7 separate regions of the Homo sapiens genome follow, and regions 1, 2, 3, 4, 5 and 6 are each linked to region 7. The links are contacts of gene promoters, found by promoter capture Hi-C in blood cells and fetal thymus (Javierre and others, 2016). All regions are on one chromosome and are shown on one strand. The core of a region is centred on a gene start or on the middle of the fragment in contact, and the rest is flanking DNA. Distances in the headings are between cores, read along the strand shown.

Region 1 (3,766 bases), core at 152-2,651, 360 kb after region 7:
TTGTAGAGATGGGACATGGTAGTGCTTAAGAGCACTAGTGTTGAAGTACAATACAGGTAGGTTCAAATCTAGCTATATTGCCTACTACCAGCTGTGTGATCTTCAGCAACTTAACTTCTTAAACCTCAGTTTCCTAGTTTCCTTACTTGCAAATGCTGGAACAACATGGACCTTGGAGAATGGGTGCAACAATTAAATAATGCCTGCAAAGCTGATGAATAAGGCACACCCTACTACACAGCAAGCACTCAACTAAAGTTAATTTTCCGATGAATGTTAAGTTCAGAGAAGTGAAATAATTTCCCCATGGAAAGGAAGACACTACAGACATTATTCTGATTTTGAAAGATGATAAGACTGAGGTTCAAAGACAGCAAGCAATTTTTTTGTTGTTGTTGTTTTATTGTTGTTCTTTGTTTTTGCCCAACATACTGTACAGGATAACAAGTAATTTTTACACAGCACAAGCTTGGACTTGAATGCATGTCTTTACCCGTTTTTCTATATCCCATTCATACTTTCTCCAGGAATATTCTTCAGGATCTTATTCAGCATTAAAATGGAATATGAAGAATTTTTATCTTCTCCAACTCCTGCTAATGTCAACACCATTCTACCCCAATGGTAAGTCTGAAATGAATGACTCAAAGGTAAAACTGCCTCCCAACACCAAGAAAACAAATGCTCTCCACTACATTAAAGCTTCTGATAGGCCTCCTCAGAAGATAATCTGGTATAAAACTCTAAGGTAAAATAACCAGAAGCAAAGACACTGAAAAGCATAAAACTTCTTTTTCTACTAGAGAAGAAGAATGGTTTAAGACTACATAGGAATTAATTTTTTAAGATATTAATGCATTTAGGCTTAAAAACATTTCATTTTTCACTCACCTCTCCCTCTCATTCTTTACCAACCACCCCTACCACCACCATACACACTTATGAGACATCGATTCCTACCTATTCAAATTATAGGCCTACTACACTATTTCTTCAGAGTTCTGGTCAACTCTCAAGCAGTACTCATCAGTCAGACCATCCATTCTAGCAATTTCTGTATGCACTGTTAAAAATCTCATGAGAAATAACAGGAACAAAGATACTATACTATAAAACAATTTACCAGAAACAAGAAAATAAACATTGTCACAGCACAGTATTGCCACAGATTTTGAGACCACTGCACACAGTAAAGAAACTTACATCTTAAAATAAAGATACATAAAGAAGACATTTACACAACTCTATTTACTTCTTAGAACTAAAGCAAAGAGAAAAGTAAAAAGAGGGGTAATACAGCTAAATGTAACTTGGAAAAACACTTGCTCCTATCCCTAACATAGATGAAATAAATTGGAGCCAAGAAGGCTGCATAATTTAACAAAGGTAACATGGTTACTGGTACAGCTGGTACTAGAATTGAGAGTTCTTGACACTGATTTAACCAAACTGCTATCCTGAATATGGATTACTGCAAGGAGATATAAATATCACACAAATTAAATATAACACTTTGCAACACCTTCACCTAAAATAATCATGTTAAAATTCAGCCGATAGTTAACAAGTTACACTCTAGATCCTAAACGTAAGAAGCAACACTCATTACATTACCTCTTTTGTCTTCTCATGTAGTCCACAACAGCAAGCATTGTTCTTTGTGATTTTTTATCCAAACAGCATCGGAAAAAGTGCTCTGACTCTGACAAACAAAAATATCTCCCCTCAGTCCCAGGCATTCTTGCTTACACACCTTCTTCCTTCTTGTTTATGTGTCTGTCTCCCACTATGCTATAAGGTTCTGGTGGGCAGTACCTAACACAAAATTGGTTCTGAAGGAATTTAATAGGATTTCTTTTGCTTTTAAAAGAAACTGTTATCTTAAAAAAAGTGAGAACTTACATTGTAATTTATATTTTATTTCAAAGGAGGACTAATTAATTGATTCAATAAGATCTTTTATGTGCTAGGTCCTCAGTATATAAGCATGAACAAGACAGATCATGTCAGACCACACAGAACTCACTGACTAGCCTGGGACATTACAACACAATATGATAAGTGTTATAATAGGAAAGTTTAAAATGCTACAGAAGCTTAGCAGAGGGAACCTCACCTAGACAAGAAAAGTTTCATAGAAAAAGTGATACTGGCCAAGTGCAATGGCTCATGCCTGTAATCCCAGCACTTTGGGAGGCTGATGCGGACGGATCACTTGAGGCCAAGTTTGAGACCAGCCTGGCCAACATGGTGAAACCCTATCTCTATTAAAAACACAAAAATTAGCAGGGCATGCTGGCACACATCTGTAATCCCAGCTATTCAGGAGGCTGAGGCACGGGAATTGCTTGATCCTGAGGGGCAGAGGTTGCAGTGAGCCGAGATTGCACCACTGCACTCCAGCCTGGGTGACACAGCGAGACTCTGTCTCAAGAGAAAAAAAGAAAAAAAAAAAAGAAAAAAGAAAAAGTGATATCTGAAAGAAGAGTAATAGTCATCAGAGCAGGAAAGGATAGTGCTACAGGCAATAATAATAATATCTGAGATGGCTGGAAGCAAGAAATAACTTGGAAAATTTAATGAAAGAATTTCAACTGTGCTAAATCATGGAGCTAGAAAGCAGTAAGGATGCTAAGGGCAGAGAGAAACAAATGGACTAAGTTATTCATAATATGGAATTGGCAAGATTTGGTAATCAGATGAAATACGTGAGAGAGGTTTCTAGAGTAAGCAACTGAGTGCCATTTGTCAAAAAGGTACACATTTAAAAAAGTAGGCTGGGGGAAGGGATGAAGAAGATGACACGTTTGCTTTTGGACAGCTGAGTTTGAGATGCACATGGGACGTTTAGTGAAGGCAATGAGGCTTATAGCCATCAGAAAAGATACACCATTTAAATTTTACAAAAATATGTATTTCCTTTTCAATAACAGAATTTTATATGTGAAGTTTAAATTTTCACTTAAGGTAATAAAAATATTGGCACTGTATACAGATAAAATAAAACAGTTACTTTACCTTCCAATGGTTGTGACATAAATACATAAGTGATAAACATGAAAAAAGTCTTGGCCATGTTCATGATAACAAATTACCAGATTATCATAAACAATGATTACCTTAAACTATGTAATAAAAATTGTTTTTAATAGTACTGTAAATTACATATTAAAGTTTTAAATGCTTAAATCACTTATACCTGTATTTTCCCAATTAAAGATAAGAGATACATTTTAGATAGTTTACAAAGCCTCTATGAGAATTTTTATTTTAGGATTTTCATTTCAGTGGCCTAAGGAAAATTCATATAAGCACATTCTAGATCATTTAGAGAACAGCCTATAATCTAGTAGGATCACAGGATGGGCATCTATGTCTATGTTTATAATTTATATTTTTCCAAATAGTAGATTTGTAATTGCTGTTAGCCAACAGAAAATAAAATACATAAAATATAAAGCATAGCAAACTGAAGTCTAAATGACATTAGAGTCATGTCAAATGAAGGTTGTAGCAGTAAAACTAAAAGAAACAATTGGAAGAACTGAGTAATCACAACCTTTGCTGAAGTGACTGGAAGGATTGGGAGGAGCAGATTAGTTGTGGCAAAATATCACATTAAATCAACATTTGTATTAGAATTGATTGGTCTTTAAGTACAACAAGTGAATTTGCACCTAGCTTTATGTTTGCATATAAAACACATTAATAATATATAATAAAGACAGTTAACAATAAAGATCTGTGAATTTTGTATCCTTTTATA
Region 2 (3,505 bases), core at 982-3,481, 450 kb after region 7:
TTTTCCTGATCCTCTACCTCCTCCCACCCTTCACCTCCAATAGGCCCCAGTGTGTGTTGTTCCCTTTATGTGCCCGTGTGTTCTCATCCTTTAGCTCCCACTTATAATTTCAGTAGCTAACAAATACTTACTGACTATTATGCCAGCACTGAGATAAGTGTACTTCAAAGGAAAATATAAGGGAATACTTATAAGTATTAAGTAATACCTATAAGGGAATATTTAATAGTAGGGAATAGGGAGTAATTATACTAAACTGTGAAGAATGAGTTGAAGATAGCTAGGTTAAGAAAAGATTAGCTGCCCAAGCAAAGGAAATAGAATAAACAATGGCCTTGAAATATAATCAATGTGTATCTGTGGGACTGAAAGACCAGTTTGGCTGGAAGCGATGGAATGGTAAAACATAGGCTGAAGAGGAAATTAGGGTACAAAGCAAGTAGAACCTCATACGACACATTAAAAATTTGAAATCATAGGCCGGGTGCAGTGGCTCACGCGTGTAATCCCAGCACTTTGGGAGGCCGAGGCGGGCAAATCACCTGAGGTCAGGAGTTCCAGACCAGCCTGGCCAACATGGCAAAACCCCATCTCTACTAAAAATATAAAAATTAGCCAGGCATGGTGGCAGGCGTCTGTAATCCCAGCTACTTGGGAGGCTGAGGCAGGAGAATCGCTTGAACCTGGGAGGCAGAGGTTGCAGTGAGCCGAGATTGCATCATTGCACTCCAGCACAGGTGACAAGAGCGGGACTCCATCTCAAAAAAAAAAAAAAAAAATTGGAATCATATTTTTTTATTGAGATATGATGCACATACTACAAAATGTAAACTTCGTTGTTTTTCAGGGTATGAAAATCCAGGATATTTATGGATTCATAATGTGCAGATATCACCAGTAATTTCAATATTTCCATCACTCCAAAGAGAATCCTTATACTATTAAGTCACTTCCAATTCCCCCTTGCCCCGTCCTCTGCCAACCACAAATCTACTTTCTGTATCTATACATGTGCCTTGCCTGGACATTGCACATAAATGAAATAGAATATTTCGCTTTTTGTGTCTGACTTTCACATAGCATAATGTTTTCAGCCTTATTCCATGTTGTAGCAGGTATTAGTACTTCATTCCTTTTTATAGCTGAATATTTCATTATATGAATATGCCATATTTTGTTTGTCCATTCATTAATGGACACTGTTATGAAAAATGCAGGCCAGCTGTAATGGCTCACCCTGTAATCCCAACACTTTGGGAGGCCAAGGCAGGAGGATTGCTTGAAGCCAGGGGAGCGAGACCAGCCTGGGCAGCATACTGAGACACCCCATCTGTACCAATAAGTAAGTAATTAGCTGGGCATTTATTTGGTGGTACATGCCTCTAGTCCTAGCTACTGGGTTGGCTGAAGTGGGAGGATCACTTCAGCCCAGGAGTTCAAGGTTATAGTGAGCTATGATTGAGCCACTCTACTTCAGCCTGGGTGACAGAGCAAGACTCTGTCTCTGAAAAAAAATAAACTGACCATAAATGTCTGGATTCCATGCTTCAGAGTTGACTAGATAAATAAGAAAGGTCTGGATTTTTTATTTTGTTCCACTAATTTCTGTGTCTAACCTCATGCCCGTACATCGTCTGGATTACTGTAGCTTTACAGTAAGTTTTGAAATTGGTAAGTGTAAGTGCTTCAACTTTTTCTTCATTTTCAAGATTATTTTGGCTATTCCAGCCCCCTTGTATTACCTTAGGAGTTTTAGGATGTTTGTCAATTTCTGCACAAAAGGCAGTTGAGATTATGATAGGAATTGTGTTGAATGTATCGGTGAATTTTGGGAGTATTGAGTTTTTAACAATATTGAACCTTTCAGTCCATGAACACAGTATGTCTTTGCGTGGATTTAGGTCTTTAATTTCCTCCAGTGACGTTTTCCAGTTTTTAGTATGCAAGTCCTTTACTTTTGTTAAACTTATTCCTAAGTATTTTATTTCTTTTGATGCTATTGTAACTAGCATTGCATTCTTAATTTTTGGTAGTTCATTGAGATTTATTGACTTTTATATATTCACTGTGTATCCTGCAACCTTGTCGAAGTCATTTATTAGCTCTAATAGTTTTTGTTTTGTTTCGTTTTGTTTTTGGGACAGAGTTTCGCTCTTGTTGCCCAGGCTGGAGTGCAATGGCGCAATCTTGGCTCACCACAACCTCTGCCTCCCGGGTTCAAGCGATTCTCCTGCCTCAGCCTCTGGAATAGCTGGGATTACAGGCATGCATCACCTTGCCCAGCTAACTTTGTATTTTTAGTAGCACCAGGGTTTCTCCATGTTGGTCAGGCTGGTCTCGAACTCCCGACCTCAGGTGATTTGCTGGCCTTGGCCTCCCAAAGTGCTGGATTATAGGCATGAGCCACCATGCCCCGCCCAGGGAGGTTTCTTAACTCCTTTTTTTTTTTTTTTTTTTTTTTTTTTGAGACAGAGTCTTGCTCTGTTGCCCAGGCTGGAGTGCAATGGCACCATCTCGGCTCATTGCAACCTCCACCTCCCTGGTTCAAGTGATTCCCCTGCCTCAGCCTCCCTAGCAGCTGGGATTAAGGTGGACACCACCATGCCTGGCTCATTTTTTTGTATTTTTAGTAGAGACGGGGTTTCACCATGTTGGCCAGACTGGTCTCGAACTCCTGACCTCAGGCAATCTGCCTGCCTTGGCCTCCCAGAGTGCTGGGATTATAGGTATGAGCCGTGGTGCCTGGCCTCTAATAGTTTTTTTGTTGTTGTTGTTGTTGTTTTTTATGGCTTCCTTAGGATTTTCTATATAAGACATGTCATCTGCAAATAGGGGTAATCTTGATTTTTTCCTTTCCAATCTGGATGCTTTTTTTTTTTTTCTTTTGAGACGGAGTCTCTCTCTGTTGCCCAGGCTAGAGTGCAGTGGCCCTATCTCAGCTCACTGCAACCTCCACCTCCCGGATTCAAGCAATTCTCCTGCCTCTGCCTCCTGAGTAGTTGGCATTACAGGCATGCACCACCACACCTGGCTAATTTTTGTATTTTTAGTAGAGACGGGGTTTCACCATGTTGAGCAGGCTGGTCTGGAACTCCTGACCTCAAATGATCCGCCCAGCTCGGCCTCCCAAAGTGCTGGGATTACAGGTGTGAGCCACTGCACCCGGCCTGGATGCTTTTTATTTCAAGTTTTTTCCTAATTGCCCTGGCTAGAGGATACATGCAATGTTGAATAGAAATGACAAGAACAGACCTTCTTACCTTTTCCCTGATCTTATGGGGAAAGGTTTGAATTTTAAACCATTGAAGATGATGTTACTTGGCTTTTTTTTTTTTTAATAGATAACTCTATGAGGTTGAGGAAATTTCTTTTTATTTCTAGTGTTTTTATCATGAAAGGGTGTTGGATTTTGTTTTTTTTGGTTTCTTTGGTAGAGTTTTGTTTTGTTTTGTTTTGCTTTTGAAACAGGTTCTTACTCTGTCATCCAGGCTGGACTGCAGTGGCA
Region 3 (3,695 bases), core at 1,152-3,651, 470 kb after region 7:
CCAAAAGCATGGGCTATAAAGGCAAAAATTAGGCAAATTCAACTTTATAAAAAATTAAAAACTTGCTCTACAAGAGGCACGTTAGAAGAAATAGGCTGGGCCAGACCCAATGGCTCATGCCTATAATCCCAGCACTTTGGGAGGCCCAGGCAAGAGGATTGCTTGAACTCAGGAGTTCTGTACCAGCCTGGGCAACATAGTGAGACCTCATCTCTAGAAAACAATTTTTAAAAATTAGCCAGGTATAGTGGTGCACTTAGTCCCAGCTGCTTGGGAGGATGAGGCTGGAGGATTGCATGAGCCCAGGAGGTCAGGGCTGTTGTGAGCCACAACTGCACGGCTGCACTTCAGCCTGGGTGACAGAGTAAAACCCTGTCCCAAAAAAAAAAGGCTGGGTGAAAATATTTATATCTTACATGTCTGATAAAGGGTTTGTACCCAGAACATATGTATAGAATTCTTAAAACTTAACAACAAAAACCAAACAATTTTTTAAGTGGATAAGAGATCTGAAGATACTTTACCAAAGAAAATATACAGATGGCAATAAGCATATGAAAAGATCTTCCATATCATTAGTCATTAAGAAAATGCAAATTAATACCCCAGTGAGATACTAATTCCTGTTAGAATGGCTAAAATAAGAAAACAGGTTTAAAAACTGGCAAGTCCTTCACCACAAATATGCAGAGCAGCAGGAACTCTTGTTTCTTACTGGTAAGAATTAAAAGTCATACAGTGGCTTTTGAAAACAGTTTGACATGATTATGACATGATTATATGATTATGCATGTACTCCTCATGTGAACCAACACTCACATTACCCAAATCAATTGGAAAACTTGTTCTCACAGAAAAACCTAGACACTGGTGTTTGCTTATAGTGGCTAAAAACTGAAAACAGGCTAAGTGTGGTGGCTCACACCTGTAATCCCAGCACTTTGGGAGGCCAAGGCGAGTGGATAGCGAGGTCAAGAGTTCAAGACCATCCTGGCCAAGATAGTGAAACCCCATCTCTACTAAAAATACAAAAATTAGCTGGGCATGATGGCGTGCGCCTGTAGTCCCAGCTACTCGGGAGGCTGAGACAGGAGAATCGCTTGAACCCAGGAGACAGAGGTTTTGGTGAGCCGAGATTGTGCCACTGCACTCCAGCCTGGGCAACAGAGCAAGACTCCATCTCAAAAAAAAAAAAAAAATACTGAAAACAGGCCAGGCGTGATGGCTCACACCTTTAATCCCAGCACTGTGGGAGGCTGAGGTAGGAACATGGCTTGAAGCCAGGAGTTCGAGGCTATAGTAAGCTGTGAGCAGCCACTGTACTCCAGCCTGTGTGACAGAGCAAGACCCTGTCTCTAAAAAATAAAAATAAATTTTAAAAACTGGTGACAACGAAGATGTCTTTCAAAAATTGACAAACTCTGATGTGTTCATAACAGCAATACTCCACTACTCAGCAATAGAAAGCAACATGCTATTGATTCACACAATAACGTGGATGAATATTAAATAAATCCTTCTGATTTCTTCTAAATTAACAATTCTGAACAAATAACAAATTGTAGATAGTGGGAGCCAGATTTCTCACTGTGTGAGGAAGAAGATACAAATAAACATAATAATGAAACCAGTGGTGTTGGGTTATAGTCTGAGATATTGGTATGACACTGTAGTTATTTTAATATATATATATACAGCTAGATGATACAAATGCTTGTGTATATGCATTTGTACATGTATGTATAGCTGTCTGCTGAGAGGGTCTGGAAGCAGTGATACCCAAGTAGCTATAATGTCCTAGTCAAACAGGCAAGATTCTTTAGAAGCTTGGATGCAAACCCTAATTTCAGTGGCTATTTTCATTTTCGATTACCTGCTTCTTTACCCTTTCCTCATCGCTACTCTGCAGTCAGATCTTTTATTAAGTTGAATGGTAGAATCTTTTCTTGTGAGAAATTATTGGTAGTATTATACAATTTTGGTAATATTTGATCTTTTTCTTTTCAGTCCTTATTTGGAAAAAACTTGACAACAATTTTAAATGAGTATGTAGCTATGAAAACAAAAGGTAAGAGTTCTGATTTGGAGTTTTTTTGCTGATGTATACAATATTTATCTACTTGATTTAGTTAAAAATGATTTCTAAAGGTTATTAATGTCTCATAAAAGCCTTGAAAAAACTTGTCCCTGTTGTAATGAGATAAATTTTTCTGGGACACATCTAATTTGTTTGTGGGTTTTGGTTTTTTGTTTTGTTTTGTTTTTTTGGTTGTTGTTTTTTGTTTTTTTGGTTTTTTTTGAGACGGAGTTTCAATCTTGTTGCCCAGGCTGGAGTGCAGTGGCGTAATCTCAGCTCACTGCAACCTCCAGCTCCTGGATTCAAGCGATTCTCCTCAGTCAGCCTCCCAAGTAGCTGAGAATACAGGCATGCGCCACCATGCCCGGCTAATTTTGTATTTTTAGTAGAGCCAGGGTTTCTCCATGTTGGTCAGGCTGGTCTCGAACTCCCGACCTCAGGTGATCCACCCACCTCGGCCTCCCAAAGTGCTGGGATTACAGGTGTGAGCCACTGCCCCCAGCCATTTGTTTGTGTTTACATTGAGTGGTACATAAATTGCAACAATCTTTATGTTAGCAAAAATAACCCAAAAACTACCTTTAAAAAATATGTAAAATAAAACTCTTACCTCTGTGTTATCTACACTGATAAACAGACATCACTATGTGTTAAAAAGTTTTAAACTGACATTTTAATTTTAATTCTATGTAGTCTAAGTCTGAACACAGAAGCCAGTCATACACTGGCTTATAGTTACTAGAATATAAAATTCTACTTGCCTAAATTAAGGATGTTTTAGAGGGAAAGTTTTGACTGCTTATTCTCTAATATTGATTATTTTCAATAGCTTACAACATTAACAAAACAATTAGCACTAAAGAATTCGCATAAGATGATAACAAAGGAAAAGAAGCTTGACATTTTTTGACATTGTCTGTGTATAAGCATTGTGCTACGTGCTTTCATATGTTTTTTTTCTCATTTAGTCTTTTCTTTGTTTGTTTTTTTTTTGAGACGGGAGTCTCGCTCTGTTGCCCAGGCTGGAGTGCAATGGCGCGATCTCGGCTCACCGCAACCTCCGTCTCCCGGGTTCAAGCAGTTCTCCTGTCTCAGTCTCCCGAGTAGCTGGGACTATAGGCGCACGCCACCATGCCCAGCTAATATTTGTGTTTTTAGTAGAGACAGGGTTTCACTATGTTGGCCAGGTTGGTCTCAAACTCCTGACCTCATGATCTGCCCACCTCAGCCTCCCAAAGTGCTGGGATTACAGGCGTGAGCCACCATGCCCGGCCTCTCATTTAGTCTTTAGAATAACCCAGTGAGAGAGATTGTTTAAAGCCATTTTTAAATATGAGAAAATTGAGGATTAAATTTCCACACTTATAAGGAATTTGCATAACCTTTATGATAATTATTATAAGACAGATTACTTTAATTCACTTTCATATGTCACATGATATCAGATAGAACAAAGATCAAAAAATTGTTTCTCCTTTTTTTAATAAAATGAAGGTGTAAAATTATTGGCCAAAAAATGCTTCAGAGATTTTACAGATGTCCATTTCTACTCATATTGTATCTGATACTCAGTGGCTTTAGAAGAGAAAGCAACCGCATTATAGCTTTGCAAGCTATT
Region 4 (3,860 bases), core at 116-2,615, 390 kb after region 7:
TTGTAACACAAAGGATATTTGTTTGGGGGATGGATACCCCATTCTCCATGATGTGATTATTTCACATTGTATACCCGTATCACACACACACACACACCCCTACTATGTACCCATAAAAATTAAAAGATCTAAAAATAAAGCAAAAAGTATAAAAGATCCAAGTTCTTGTATTAACTTTGTTCATGACAATATGCTTCTATTAATGCAGTGTAAGACAGAGTTAGCCTTTTTGGTAACTGTAATACAATGTTGATTCATACTATAATCACAAGATACAAAACTTCCTAGGTCTTTTTCTAAATGAATTGCTGTCAGATCAGTATTTTCCCTTTTTGCAGATGACAGGCTGATTTAAAATGTATAATATACATTATCTCATTAGATTTTATGTTATTTACACTTATCTTTCTAATCTATTGAAATTCTTTTCTAAACTCACATTCTTTCAATTGTTCCTTTCAATTTCCTGCTATCACAGACTTGACAGTTATTTAACTACCTTAAATACTTGTAAGAAACAAACCAGGGCATAAATAAATGAAAAAATTTGAACTCTAAGATAATCATTACCATAAAAAATATATTATTCTACAGAAACGTGAAATATCACAAGTTTCACTGTAAACACCACAATGATTTGATTTTGTGTGAGATTCTTCTCCTCAATCCATTTCTTCCCATTGTCACCTGTTCCCTTAATTAGCTTTTAATCAGATCACATATAAAAGGATTTTTAAAATAAAAAAGGGAGCCATTTATACTCCCATAAAAACTCAGTTAAATTTTGGGTTTCTCCATAAAAATGCTAAACCAAAAGAAATTGCTATGATTTGACCCATTGTGACCCAGAAAGAATGCAGTTTCAATCAATTCATACAGTTGTTTTAGAGCAGCTTTATACTGTAAACTACTGGATTATAAACTCTCTTATACCAAACTTGGTGAAGTAATTTATGGGATATTCATAGCAAGCATATGATAACAGCAAATACATGTTACTTAAAATTACCATTTCTCTCATTCCTTCCTGAGCTTTCAAGTATGCATTTTCAAAAGCTGTTTGCTGAAGCTTCAAAGGAAGTGCTTTCAGTAACCTGGAAGAATCTCCCTTCGTGTCCTGGAACAATCTTAAAACAAGCAAGCAAACAAACAAACAAAAAGTGAAATAATTTTCTAATTTCAAACCCTACTTTCCAAAGCATATTCCAGAACAAAAATAAATCACTCTGTGAGACATAATAACATACTAGCTCTTTCTTAAAGACTAACAAAACCTGAGTTTATTTAAAGAGGTTCAGACCAGCAGCTTAGTATTAAGGTCTTGAATACAAAATCTATTTTCTCCTAGAACTGAAGAGGGTCTCAAAATATATTTTAACTATTGCTCAAATTTGAACAGCACTGAACTCAAACTAGCCAGAAAAGATAAACTGTTCTCTGGCCGAACACCAATTAGTTGAGTCCACAGATTCCAATGTCAACCTGCTCTAACATTTAATCACTCTGAAAGCGGGTAAGTTAATGTTTTTATGTACCATTTAAATTTTGTTTTATGTGATGGAAAAAAGTTGATCAGTACACCTTTTGCGTAACACCCACATATTTAAGGATAACTCTTTAATCAACTTTGTCTTTTATCCTTTTTTAGTAATCGAAGCTTTTATAATTGTTTATGTTCCTCTGATTCTTCTAGTTTCACTCACTGCTCTTAAAATAGCTGAACATTAGATATCTGCTATTGTCTGAATGTTTAACCCCTCCAAATGTCATGTTGAAATCTGATCCCCATTAGGTTATGCCTAATGGGAGGTGTCGGAGTCATGGGGGCAGATCCCTCACGAATAGATTAAGGCCTGAGGGTAAGGAATGAGTGAGTTCTCACTATTCAGTTCCCACAAGGGCTGGTTATTAAAAAAAAGAGCCTGGCATGGCCTTCCCCGCCTCCACCCTTGCTTCCTCTCTCACCATGTGATCTCTGCACACACTGATTCCTCTTTGCCTTCTGCCATGAGTCTGAGGCCCTTACCAGATGTAGACGCCATATGCCAAATAAACCTCTTTTCTTTGTAAATATCCAGCCTCAGGTATTCCTTTATAGCAACACAAAGGGACTAAGACAAAATCTAACAAGTGTAAAATTAAAAAAAAGAATGCTACTTGCATGTTATTCTTGAATTTATACTTTTTGAATCTTCAGTTTTTTTAATGCCACCACTACACTGCCGCCTTATTACATTCAATTCAGTCTTATATTACCTCAGTCCTTAAAGTTCAGCATACATTTGCTTTTATCTGTGAAATTTAATAAGGGCTTGAACTACTAAACATATTCATTAGAAATCCTTGCAATGCATTATGGTCTTACTAAAAACAGTTCCAAACCTGAGGAGTTAGACACAAAATCTAGTTTATGAAAACATTACTGTCGGCATATTCAAATACTGAAATATTAGTTTTAATACTTTATGTGACTGCTGAACAATATAGTAATCTTTTATTATTGATTGCTTACATTTTAAAGTTACTCAAATGATTTTCAGCTTTGATGTTTTTGAAGCATCATGTAATTTTTTTTCAAGTACATTCATTTATTTTAAAACAGTTATTGGATACCTATCACATGCCAAGTATTGTTTTAGGTGCTAAAAATACAACAATGAACAGAACAGACAAAAACCAGTGCCTTTAGGAACATATATACTAGTGGAATACGGAGAAGTAAATATATTAAAATATGTTTCACGTTATCATAAATACTAGAGAAAAATAAAACAAGGGAACAGCAAGATGGCAACATAGGAACAGTTCTGGTCTGCAGCTCCCAGTGAGATCAACGCAGAAGGTGGTGATTTCTGCATTTCCAACTGAGGTAGATGGCTCATCTCATTGGGACTGGTTAGACAGTGGGTGCAGCCCACGGAGGGAGAGTCAAAGCAGGGTGGGGTGTAGCCTCACCCGGGAAGCACAAGGGGTCGGGGAACTCCCTCCCCTAGCCAAGGGAAGCCGTGAGGGACTATGCTGTGAGGGGCTATGCTGTGAGGAATGGTGGATTCCTGCCCAGATACTACGCTTTTCCCGCAGTCTTTGCAACCCGCAGACCAAGAGATTCCCTTGGGTGCCTACACCACCAGGGCCCTGGGTTTAAAGCACAAAGCTGGGCGGCCATTTGGGCAGACACTGAGCTAGCTGCAAGAGTGTTTTTTCATACCCCAGTGGCACCTGGAACGCCAGCGAGACGGACCCATTCACTCCCCTAGAAAGGGGGCTGAAGCCAGGGAGCCAAGTGGTCTAGCTCAGCGGATCCCACCCCCATGGAGACCAGCAAGTTAAGATCCACTGGCTTGAAATTCTCGCTGCCAGCAGAACAGTCTGAAGTCGACCTGGGACACTGAAGCTTGGTGGGGGGAGGGGCGTCTGCAATTACTGAGGCTTCAGTAGGATGTTTTCCCCTCACAGTATAAACACAGCCAGTAGGAAGTTCGAACTGGGTGGAGCCCAACATAGTGCCACAAAGCCACTGTAGCCAGACTGCCTCTCTAGATTCCTCCTCTCTGGGCAGGGTATCTCTGAAAGACAGGCAGCAGCCCCAGTCAGGAGCTTATAGATAAAATTCCCATCTCCCTGACACAGAGCACCTGGGGAAAGGGGTGGTTGTGGGCACAGCTTCAGCGGACTTAAACGTTCCTGCCTGCCAGCTCTGAAGAGAATAGCGGATCTCCCAGCACAGCGCTCGAGCTCTGCTAAGGGACAGACTGCCTCCTCAAGTGGGTCCCTGACCCCCGTGCCTCCTGACTGGGAGACACCTCCCAGCAGGGGTCGACAGACACCTCATACAGAAGAGCTCCCGCTGCCATCTGGCG
Region 5 (2,588 bases), core at 1-2,500, 330 kb after region 7:
AGGCCGGGTGTGGTGGCTCACGCTCGTAACTTTAACTACTGTTTCATCAAAGATTCACTAATATATGTAAAGTCATCTGAGAAATAACTCCTCACGAAAACATAAAGTAAATTTTGGAAAACAGTAGAAGGAGTTTTCTGGGTTATAACTGCTAAATCTGGCATTTTAAGGAAACATTCAGCGAAATCACCTAGCTGATATAGCTAGAAAAACAGCAGTTAATCCACATGATACAGCTACATTTCAAATCAAGTAACTAGATACTAAGCACTAAACTGCAAAATGAAAAGAAAGACAATGTATTTAAGATGATCATTTTCTAAACTTATAACCCTTATTACATATATCCCTGCCCACATGAAATTACTTCCATTATTTCTTGCAATAAAAGAATATTAGAACAGAGCTAAGTGTATCATGCATATGAAGTCAGCTTAATATTATAATAATACATACTATATTACTTAATACTGTGATATATCACAGCCAATACATTTTACTGCACATAGAATTTTTAAAAACAATATATGACAATTGGAACCTTCCTTGCCAAGTCAAAAATTAATCTTGGCATAAGCACACGGAAACTCTCCTTCTGGCCAATGAAAGTAACAGTCTATAGACCTTCATAAGAAAGATGGGAGGTGTAGAACAGAAGGCAATGGAAAAGAAAGCAGGAGAAGCTTTTGAGTATTTTAGGGCTTGGGCAAAGGAAATATAATACTGAGAAATTATAGGTTGAAACATATGAAATTTGCCAATATTTAACCAATTTTGACCTACATAAAAATACTATTTCAAATGGTTCAATCTAATAAAAAAAATTTAGTTTAAAAAAAATCAAGAGTTAATTGCAAATTACCTTAATTTCCATAGTAGGGACAACAACATCTTCTAAATTCTTAAGTTTAGTAATTGGCTGGTCTGCTGGAATATTTATGCCTTCTGTATTTAAAAATGAAGAGATTTTAGTGACAAACTGAGGAACAGCATTGAAGGTCAAGCAGGAATAGTCAGCAGATACCACTGGCCCCAACTTGTTGCTAATCTGTGGTTCAGGCTCTGATTGAGAAATGAAGACTCTGGGCTTTGGCCACTATGCAGCTCAGAGTCAAAGCTCAACAGTGGTTAATGTAGCTTCAAGTAAATTTGCAGGTTACCTGACAAGGGTAACTAGACCAGATTCCACCTGAGGAACCAGACTAAACATCTTAAAATAATTACGTAATAGTTTGCATAGTACATAGATAACATACTCCTGTCACATTACCATTAAATGCAACTAAAAGACATGTCAATACTTTTTGTTTGCTTAGAGAAACAATATGTGAAGTCCCATTCGTTTTCAAGTAATAAGAATTTAAACTTGAAGATATGATTCTGAATAGAAAAAAATACAATTATTAAAGTATGGGGAGATACTTAGAAGCATACTTAGAGACTAGTCACAAAACCAAAGATTATATAGCAGCTTGTAATTATTTGAACTGACACAGCAAGAATAATAATTAAATAATGGCATTTTAGCACCTATGGAAGAAATGGTAAAGCCTTTTTTTGTTTTTAAGTCCCAGGGCAGTTTTAGTAACCACATCGTTTAAAAAAACTTTTGAGGCTAGAAATGTTCAGTTATTCAATTATTTTAATAGACTTGCCTCTATTATGCAATTCTCTGTAATAAGTATGTATGCCAGAAGATTATCAGAAGAAATCAAATAATTAATTTAGTGTAGTCACCTATTACCAGTTCTATTAAGAGATATTAAGTGAAAAAGTAACCAGGGAATGCTGAAGCCATCAGATATAAATTAAGCTTTTGGATTACGTTTGTGATTTTAAGCAGATTTACTTATTAGGCTCTATAACTAATATATCTCTACAGAGAGTAACACAGCAAGAAAGTAACGTTTCTTCTTTAAAAAAAACATACTTCTCTGAGTCTTCCACTGAGTGGCATCTAAGTTTGCTAATATAATATAAGCATCACAAAGTGCCTCAACACTTCTGACCATCTGAGGTCTCCTACTTCTGATAGTACATATTATTCTATTTGCAGCCTCTGTTCGATCCTATTAATAAAAAACAAAAAACATTACATAAGGAACTACCCAACATTTAAACTTCTCAGAGTTAGAAAAACAAAGAGAAAAACAGAATTTATGCACAAATCTAGACAATGGAATGATTATAATTCCTCAGATACAAACAAAACAGTCATAAATGAAATACATCAAAGATACATACTCTCGTCAATGACTTAGGTGCCTTTCAAAATCTATTGTTTCACTTTGCCAACTGCTTTGAGGAAAAAAGTAAACTACTACTGGTATCTCCTATGCTTTGACAAATATTAAGGAATTTTGAACCAATTTTAATTAATTAATTAATTAATTAATTTGAGACAGAGTTTCGCTCTTGTTGCCCAGGCTGGAGTGCAATGGCGCAACCTTGGCTCACTGCAACCTCCGCCTCCCGAGTTCAAGTGATTCTCCTGCCTCAGCCTCCCGAGTAGCTGGGACTACAGGTGCCCACCACCATGCCCAGCTGTTTTTTGCATTTTTAGTAGAGACAGGGTTTTGCTGTGTCGG
Region 6 (3,715 bases), core at 914-3,413, 310 kb after region 7:
CTGGAAGAAACTCCCAAATCCACCTTAGCATAAAAATCCCTTCTGACTGAAACTAGGTAGAGTAAAATACTAAAGAATATGTTAAGCTGCTTTGACTCTTTAATTTGAAAAGTTTGGGCTTTTTTTTTTTTTTTTTTTTAAGACAGACAGAGTCTTGCTCTTGTCGCCCAGGCTGGAGGGCAATGGTGCAATTTCAGCTCACTACAACCTCCACCTCCTGGGTTCAAGCGATTCTCCTGCCTCAGCCTCCTGAGTAGCTGGGATTACAGGTGCCCGCCATCACGCCCAGCTAATTTTTGCATTTTTATTAGAGACGGGGTTTCACCATGTTGGCCAAACTGGTCTTGAACTCCTGACCTCAGGTGATCCACCTGTCTCGGCCTCTCAAAGTGCTGGGATTACAGGCATGAGCCACCGCGCCCAGCCCTCTTTTTCTTACATGAAAAAGTGCAAGATAATATAACTTTAGAGTTTAATTTCGACATTATTGAGGCATCCATGTTACCATGTATTATTTTTTTAAAATGTTACACATCATGCTTATTTTCTTATCATTTATTCTTACTGCAGAACCAATGGCAAACTGTAACAAATGACAACATGTATGAACAGAATTTGAAATCGGTAAAAGAAAAAAGAATGTATTTTTAACCTTGGGAATAGCACAGCCTTGGATTTAATTTTACCAACGTATTATTGGGACCTATTTCAGCAAACTCCTTGTAGCAAAATCTGTATTACCATCTGCAGTCCAAAGGAGATCTATAAAGATGCCTCGGTTCATAAAGGTGCACACAGGACCACCCTGATGGACTGTTACTCATCTTCCAAGGGATAAAGCCCCACCCTTATTGACCACAGGCTTAATGGTTAATGCCAATGAATTAAGACAGTTCTCATATCCTAGTTGAACAGTAGGAGAGATTTTTAAAAATGCACATATTCCTGCCCCATCTCTAGAAACCTGGTTTGAATTTGATCAGCATCAATGTTTTTTAAATGCAGTAAAAGTAATACTAACATGCAGCCAGTCCAACATAAATCAGGTTAAAGGAAGAAAAGCTGAGTAGTGGAAAAGTGGCAAGCCCATACTGCACTCTACCTGCCATGCTTCCCTGGGGAGGCCACACTCCTGATTTCTTGTCTCACATACCCTTACCAGATTGGTGAATGACTGGCATAGGTACTAACAGCACAGACACTGAAATTTGTTTGACTTCCTTTTTTCTGCCCTGGATCAAGACAAGGCAGTGATCCTGATTACATGTGTTTGCTCTGCAGGCCCAAACCCTATTCAGGTGAGCTGTCCCAAAGTTAAGACAGCAGAGAGGTACTGAGGTAGCACCAGCAGTAAACTAGTCTGGCCCTCATTCCTAAGCCATGTTCCTCTAGTAATGATGCTGACAATTTGATCTCCATTTGTCTGACTAATTAGTTCTGAACCTGAGCAGGGAAAAAGGAGATATAAATTTCTGATTTTTCTTAAACCCTAATGGAAACCATTCTGAAAATAATAATACCATATGGAATATCTAAATGTCAAAGAATTGATTTATGAATTGAAAACTAGAGACTACTTACAATGCTCTAACATTCCAAGAAACTCAAGGGGGCTGAAGGCATTTCTAAACCAGTATTTTTGGATGTGTGAAAAGGCTAAGTGCACAATCTCCTCCTTTCTGCTGCCCAGCCACATCCCCCTATGTTAAAATGAAGCAGTGCTCTTCACATCAGTGACTTCCTGATGAGATACACAGTCTACCTGGTAAGAAAAAAAATAAAGTCTTCCTTATAAAATACTTTACCTCTACAATGGTTAACAGAGTTTCCTGAGAGTTTCTCATCACTTCCATGGTTTTCTCACAGCATCTAGAGTCAAACACATTATAAATACGGATTTTGTTACACACCAATGTTGTCAACGTATCTTTATCTGTATACTCTCATGTGTAGTATGCTGAGCCTATGCTTAATAATCTACATATCTGTATCTCAAAATAGCATAATACTTGGCAGAGTGGGCTTTCATTAGACGTTTGAAATGAATACAAATATGTATTTGACTATTTCACAAGCTTGGCATTTACAAGAATAACACAACACTATTGATTACAGGCATGCACCACTGGGCTCAGCTCTCAGTCTTTGATTATTGTGGCAATTATTAGTTTACACTGACTGCAATCTGCCCCAATCCAAGTTGAGTACACAGACCTATGCTGGGAAAACTACAAGGAACTGCAAAGCTTTTTTAGTAGCACAATGTTATACTAGAACACAAGCTCCTATAAATAAAAATGTAGTCTCTTCTATATGCACAGTGATGAGCACCCAATAGTAGTTTGGATCATTAAGAAGGAGTCAGCCAGGATAGAGGTGTTAAAAGTAAAGGTGGGATGCTTCCAGAGGAGGTTTGGAATAACAGTATGTATGTTACATGGGCTTAGGTCCCAGGTGGGTGGAAGGAAGAGGAACTATTATTGCTTTTACCCAGGGTCTTTTCCTTAGTATTGATAAGGCACTGGAATACGATTCTAGCACTAAATTCTATAATCTATACAAATCTCTAACCCGTGTGTGTGTGTGTGTGTGTGTGTGTGTGTGTGTGTTTGTGTGTGTGTATTTTTTTAGATACAGGGTCTTGCTGTATTGCCTAGGCTGGACTCAAACTCCTGGGCTCAAACAATCCTCCCACTTCAGCCTCTTGAGCAGCTGGGATTACAGGTGCAAAGAACCATGCCCAGCCCATGTAATTTTGACATCAAAAATTATTTCCCTCCTTTACTTCATATCACTTACCTTCTGAAGACACCTTCAACACCCGTAATGCCCATGCCATCCACAATATCTCTGGTGAGTCTAAAAGGAACTGTCTCAGGAGTAGGAAGGATTTTGCCCTGTTCAAAAGCAACACCTAAAGTAAAGAATACAGTGAAGTTAGGAGGTTTGACAGCTAATTTACTTTCTTTCCAGTTAGAATGTGAACTTTACAAAGGCAAGAAACCACATGTTACCTACGTTCTATGAACACTAGTATGTACAGTAGTTTACTTCTGCTCTGGCTGCCTTCCTCATCTTTGTCACTGTCTGTGAGATCCACCTCAAATCCAAATAACCTAACTACTTCTTAACCCAACTAGAGAAATCTAGGTTAAAGGGTGATTTTTAAAAATGAAGTAACTACTGGTATAATTTAAAATGGAGATGATATATTTATATTTAAAAAATTTTTAGGCTGGGTGTGGTGGCTCCCGCCTGTAATCCCAGCACCTTGAGGCTGAGGAGGCCTGACACCTGAGGTCAGGAGTTAAGAGACCAGCCTGGCCAACATGGTGAAACCTTGTCTCCACTAAAAATACAAAAATTAGCTGGGTGTGGTAGCAGGTGCCTATAATCCCAGTTACTCGGGAGGCTGAGACAGGAGAATCACTTGAACCTGGGAGGTGAAGGATACATGGAGCTGAGATCGTGCCATTGCACTCCAGCCTGGGCGACAAGAGTGAAACTCCATCAAAAAAAAAAAATTAATGACATTTTATGAGATAATTATATGTTCACTTCGAGTTGTAAGAAATCATACAGAAAAGATCATCCCTTATGCCTTTTCCCCATTTCACCCCAACTGTAATGTCCTGCAAAACTATACTACTACTGACATCGATGCAGTCAAGATATATAATATTCCTATCATAAGGATCCTTCATACTGCCCTTTA
Region 7 (3,698 bases), core at 1,148-3,647:
ACTCTGCAGCAGACTAGAACATGTTGACACGCTGTATTTGACAATTTTTCTAAAAGTAACTGTGAGCCAAGGAAGGGTTCTAATCGGCAGTAAAATGATTAGATCTTCATCTTGGAAAGAATCATTCTAGCAGAAGTACAGAGGACAAATTAAAAGGTTTAAGGCCTAGGGGACAAAGCCCATCAGCCACCTGTTTCACTAATTAAAGTTTTACTGAAAAACAACACCCATTCATTTAAGTATTTCTATGGCAGCTTTTGTATTACAAGGGAACAATTGAGTAGTTCCACCCTTAGGACTACAAAGCTGAAAACATTCACTATCATTTACAGAGAAAGTTTGCTGATCCCTGTTGAAAGCAATATTTACTATAGTAATCCAGGCAAGAGATGATGGGGACTGAAGACAATGCAGTAGGGATGAAGAAGCATTTGAAAAATGTAAGCAGAACAGATCAGCAGTGTGACCGACTGGATATAAGAGTAGGTAAGAGAGAAGTAGCTAAGACTGCTCCTAGGTTTCTAGCTCTACGGTCTGCTGAGATGGTGGAGCTAGGATGTGGTGCTGAAAATGATCCCAACTCATGTCCATGTATTAACTTCTGGAAGGGATGAATGTTACCTTACATGGCAAAAGTGACTTTTCAGATGTGATTAAATTAAAGATCTTGGGATGGGGTGATTATCCTGGATTATCTGTGTAGGCCCTAAACGCAATCGTAAGCGCCCTTATAACAGAGGAACAGAGATAGACTGACACAGGAGAAGGCAGAGACTGGAGTTATGCAGCCACAGGCCAAGGAATGCCAGCAGCCACCAGAAGCTACAAGAGGCAGGAAACAGATTCTCCCCTAGAACCTCTGGAGGGAGCAAGTCCCTGCTGACACCTTGATTTTGGCCCAGTGAAACTGATTTCAGACGTATGGCCTCCAGAACTGTGACAAGGTAAATCTCTGTTGTTGCTGGGCTTTTTTGTTTGTTTGTTTAAGACAGAGTCTCACTCATGTCACCCAGTCTGGAGTGCAATGGTGCGATCTGGGCTCACTGCAACCTCTGCCTCCCGGGTTCAAGCGATTCTCTTGCCTCAGCCTCCCGAGTAGCTGGGATTACAGGCACCCACCACTAGGCCCAGCTAATTTTTTTGTATTTTTAGTAGAGGCGGGGTTTCACCATGTTGGTCAGGCTGGTCTCGAACTCCTGACCTCAAGATCTCTGTTGTTTTAAGCCGCCAAGTTTGTGGTAATTTGTTACAATGGCAACCTTAGTTACAAGAATGTTCCATCTGTTAAATCCCTGATTGTACTGCACTAGAAGGGGGCTGAGAAGCTGAAAGATGTGGGTGAAGACCAACAAACATGGGATTTAGGGAAAGGGAAAAGAGGAATTGACAGACCTGTGGAGTCTGGAGGTTGGGGGAAGAAGTCAGGAGGTCAAAGTGATCATTACAGGTATACTCATCTGGGAACACCAGCTACAATGTGGGGATGATAGGTGACAGAAACAGACCAGCGGTCCAGCTTTTCTAGGCCAATTCTTGGATGGGGACATGAAGCCTGTGGAGAAAATGAGGTGGCCACAGGAAGGAGCATAGATGATGTTGAGGGATGCAGTCTGGCTTCATGGTTAAAAGCAAAGGCTTTGGGATTAGAAAGACATGGATCTAGCTTCCAATTCCACACCACCTACTAAGCGTGAAAGATTCGGACAAGTTTCATTCCTCTTAGAACCTCAATTATCTCATCTGTTAAATAGGATTATTAATATCCATACCTCAGATCAAGTCAAACAATTACTGTAAGCACATGGTGAGTGCTTAAAAATGTAGGTGTCATTATTACCACTATTGTCATCAGTATTATTAATATGAATATGACTGTAGCTATTACAGCATTAGTCTCCCTACCCTTAGGTACGGCCGCATTTCTATTATTTTTTTAGGAACAGTGTGGCAAGCAGAAGAGTGGCCAGAACGGTGCAGAGGTTTGAGCTGTGGCACCCGGCGTGACCTCTCATTCCCGGCCGGGTCCCGGTGACAGATCCGCCGCCTCCACTCTGCAACTCCTCGCCGCAGTGAGACGCTGCCCCGCTGCTGGCCGGCCCGAGCCCCCTCCCCAGCGCCGGCCTCACCTTTTCATAGTTCTGCATGAGGCGGCTGATACTCTCGCGCTCGACCTGCCATTCGGGTTTCTTCAGTTGCTTCCTCAACTGCTTCTTTTTGTTCTGCCTATGGCTGTGTTTTTTCTTCCAGCGATTGAAGCTCCGCACCGGGTCGGGTCGGGCTCCCGAACCCGGAGAGTTGGCCGTTTTGCCCATTGCGGCGGCGGCGGCGACAGCTCGGATCAACCCCAGACACGAGACACCTAAGGCCAGACTCACGGAACCAGCATGGGACAAACGCACAGAGGCGCATGCGCGAACTCAGAAGCCCGCCCCCGAGCTTTTGAAACCGGGGCACGCGCCAATGACGTCAGGAAAAGGAGGGCTGTGATTGGCGAATTGGCTCCTGCTGGGAGGGGCAGCCTGGGGAAACGGGGGCGCAGCACTCCACGGAAGGGGGCGAGCTGAGCCGAGCCGGGAGCACGCCGGCTCTTTAAAAAAAAACGCATGCGCACTGTTGTTGTTACTATGGTGACGTCATACACTGACCCTTTAAGGGCTATTAACACATTTGCTCCAGGTTCAACTTTGCTAAGCGTTCGTGAGTATGTGTGTAAACACATACAATCTGTGAATGAAAATTGTGACCCTCGTTTTGCACTTTTCGGGCCAACGAGCCAAAAGATTTGCCCAGAAGTAAACAGCTAGTTAGTGACTTCTGATTTCCATCCATGGTGGTTGTACTTCCTCAGGAATAAAAATGAATATTCTATATTCTTCTTATGCCCCTCTGGGTTTTCCTTTTCCTCTGGGCCCCTCAGACTCTAGCTGCAACAGCAAGGAAACTGGAACGGAATCAAATTGAATTTGCCTTAAAATGCTTTTATGGAGACAAAATGATAACTAAACGTAAGGAGGTAGGTAATAGAGGCCGGGCACGGTGGCTCACGCCTGTAATTCCAGCAATTTGGGAGGTCGAGGTGGGTGGATCACCTGAGGTCAGGAGGTCGAGACCAGCCTGGCCAATATGGTGATGCCCTGTCTCTGCTAAAAATACAAAAATTAGCCAGGCGTGGTGGTGCACACCTATAATCCTAGCTACTTGGGAGGCTGAGGCAGGAGAATCGCTTGAACCCCGGGGGCGGAGGTTATAGTGAGCCAAGATCGCCCCACTTCACCACAGCCTGGGTGAAAGAGTGAAACTCCGTCAAAAAAAAAAAAAAAAGGAGGTAATAGAAAAGTTATTGCAAGTTGGACATTTAAGTGAACTGGCTTTCAATGAATTGAATTTTTTGACACATTTACCTACAGCCTCCAGGAAAACACCGGATGTGGGTGGGAGAGCTTAGCTGTAGCAAAGGAGATTGGAAAATTGAGTTCAAAGTTCACAGGCAGAATTTTGGGCTCTCAAATTTCCTTTCCAACCCCACATATCCAGATCACTACTCTCAACTCTATGCCCATCCTCCAAACAAGACATGGCTTATTGGAAGGGAGTGAGGACAGGAGGTGAACAAGAGAATTTCCACACTCAGGAACACTAGATGTGGTAGACAGTAAAGCTCAATAAGGAGTGATTACATGAAAGTGTATATACATCCT

What was found. Contacts are between HindIII fragments. The CHiCAGO score rates a contact against its expected background, and 5 or more counts as called.
Region 1: a contact is called between a fragment that was not itself captured here and the fragment with the promoter of DDX10 in region 7, in 6 of 17 cell types (total CD4 T cells, naive CD4 T cells, naive CD8 T cells and 3 more). The highest score is 6.6, in total CD4 T cells.
Region 2: a contact is called between a fragment that was not itself captured here and the fragment with the promoter of DDX10 in region 7, in 3 of 17 cell types (total CD4 T cells, erythroblasts and naive CD4 T cells). The highest score is 6.5, in total CD4 T cells.
Region 3: a fragment that was not itself captured here is called in contact with the fragment with the promoter of DDX10 in region 7 in 2 of 17 cell types (total CD4 T cells and total CD8 T cells); the score reaches 6.2 in total CD4 T cells.
Region 4: a contact is called between a fragment that was not itself captured here and the fragment with the promoter of DDX10 in region 7, in 2 of 17 cell types (naive CD4 T cells and total CD8 T cells). The highest score is 5.3, in naive CD4 T cells.
Region 5: a fragment that was not itself captured here is called in contact with the fragment with the promoter of DDX10 in region 7 in 3 of 17 cell types (naive CD4 T cells, activated CD4 T cells and total CD4 T cells); the score reaches 6.1 in naive CD4 T cells.
Region 6: a contact is called between a fragment that was not itself captured here and the fragment with the promoter of DDX10 in region 7, in 6 of 17 cell types (total CD8 T cells, total CD4 T cells, naive CD4 T cells and 3 more). The highest score is 7.4, in total CD8 T cells.

What each region holds. Positions count from the first base shown.
Region 1 is chr11:108,305,833-108,309,598 of GRCh38, reverse strand. ATM (ATM serine/threonine kinase) reads right to left here. Exons shown (of 63, transcript NM_000051.4): 38 at 1,615-1,702. It also overlaps a transcript of C11orf65 not described here. Among named protein-coding and RNA genes, the nearest start is that of ATM, 85 kb to the right of the region's middle. The HindIII fragment of the contact is 1,394 bases long and covers 705-2,098 here.
Region 2 is chr11:108,211,906-108,215,410 of GRCh38, reverse strand. The region is part of intron 1 of NPAT (nuclear protein, coactivator of histone transcription); the gene reads left to right. Among named protein-coding and RNA genes, the nearest start is that of NPAT, 9.0 kb to the left of the region's middle. The HindIII fragment of the contact is 5,376 bases long and covers 1-3,505 here.
Region 3 is chr11:108,192,330-108,196,024 of GRCh38, reverse strand. NPAT (nuclear protein, coactivator of histone transcription) reads left to right here. Exons shown (of 18, transcript NM_002519.3): 3 at 2,008-2,068. Among named protein-coding and RNA genes, the nearest start is that of NPAT, 28 kb to the left of the region's middle. The HindIII fragment of the contact is 1,146 bases long and covers 1,829-2,974 here.
Region 4 is chr11:108,276,758-108,280,617 of GRCh38, reverse strand. It overlaps ATM (ATM serine/threonine kinase), which reads right to left. Exons shown (of 63, transcript NM_000051.4): 23 at 1,010-1,127. Among named protein-coding and RNA genes, the nearest start is that of ATM, 56 kb to the right of the region's middle. RefSeq lists an enhancer at 2,683-3,482. The HindIII fragment of the contact is 588 bases long and covers 1,072-1,659 here.
Region 5 is chr11:108,332,243-108,334,830 of GRCh38, reverse strand. It overlaps ATM (ATM serine/threonine kinase), which reads right to left. Exons shown (of 63, transcript NM_000051.4): 53 at 1,931-2,069; 54 at 863-945. It also overlaps a transcript of C11orf65 not described here. Among named protein-coding and RNA genes, the nearest start is that of ATM, 110 kb to the right of the region's middle. The HindIII fragment of the contact is 1,130 bases long and covers 686-1,815 here.
Region 6 is chr11:108,352,965-108,356,679 of GRCh38, reverse strand. It overlaps ATM (ATM serine/threonine kinase), which reads right to left. Exons shown (of 63, transcript NM_000051.4): 60 at 2,800-2,914; 61 at 1,806-1,869. It also overlaps a transcript of C11orf65 not described here. Among named protein-coding and RNA genes, the nearest start is that of C11orf65, 110 kb to the left of the region's middle. The HindIII fragment of the contact is 171 bases long and covers 2,078-2,248 here.
Region 7 is chr11:108,663,768-108,667,465 of GRCh38, reverse strand. It overlaps DDX10 (DEAD-box helicase 10), which reads right to left and starts at 2,397. Exons shown (of 18, transcript NM_004398.4): 1 at 2,127-2,397. The coding sequence starts at 2,312. The HindIII fragment of the contact is 12,853 bases long and covers 1-3,698 here.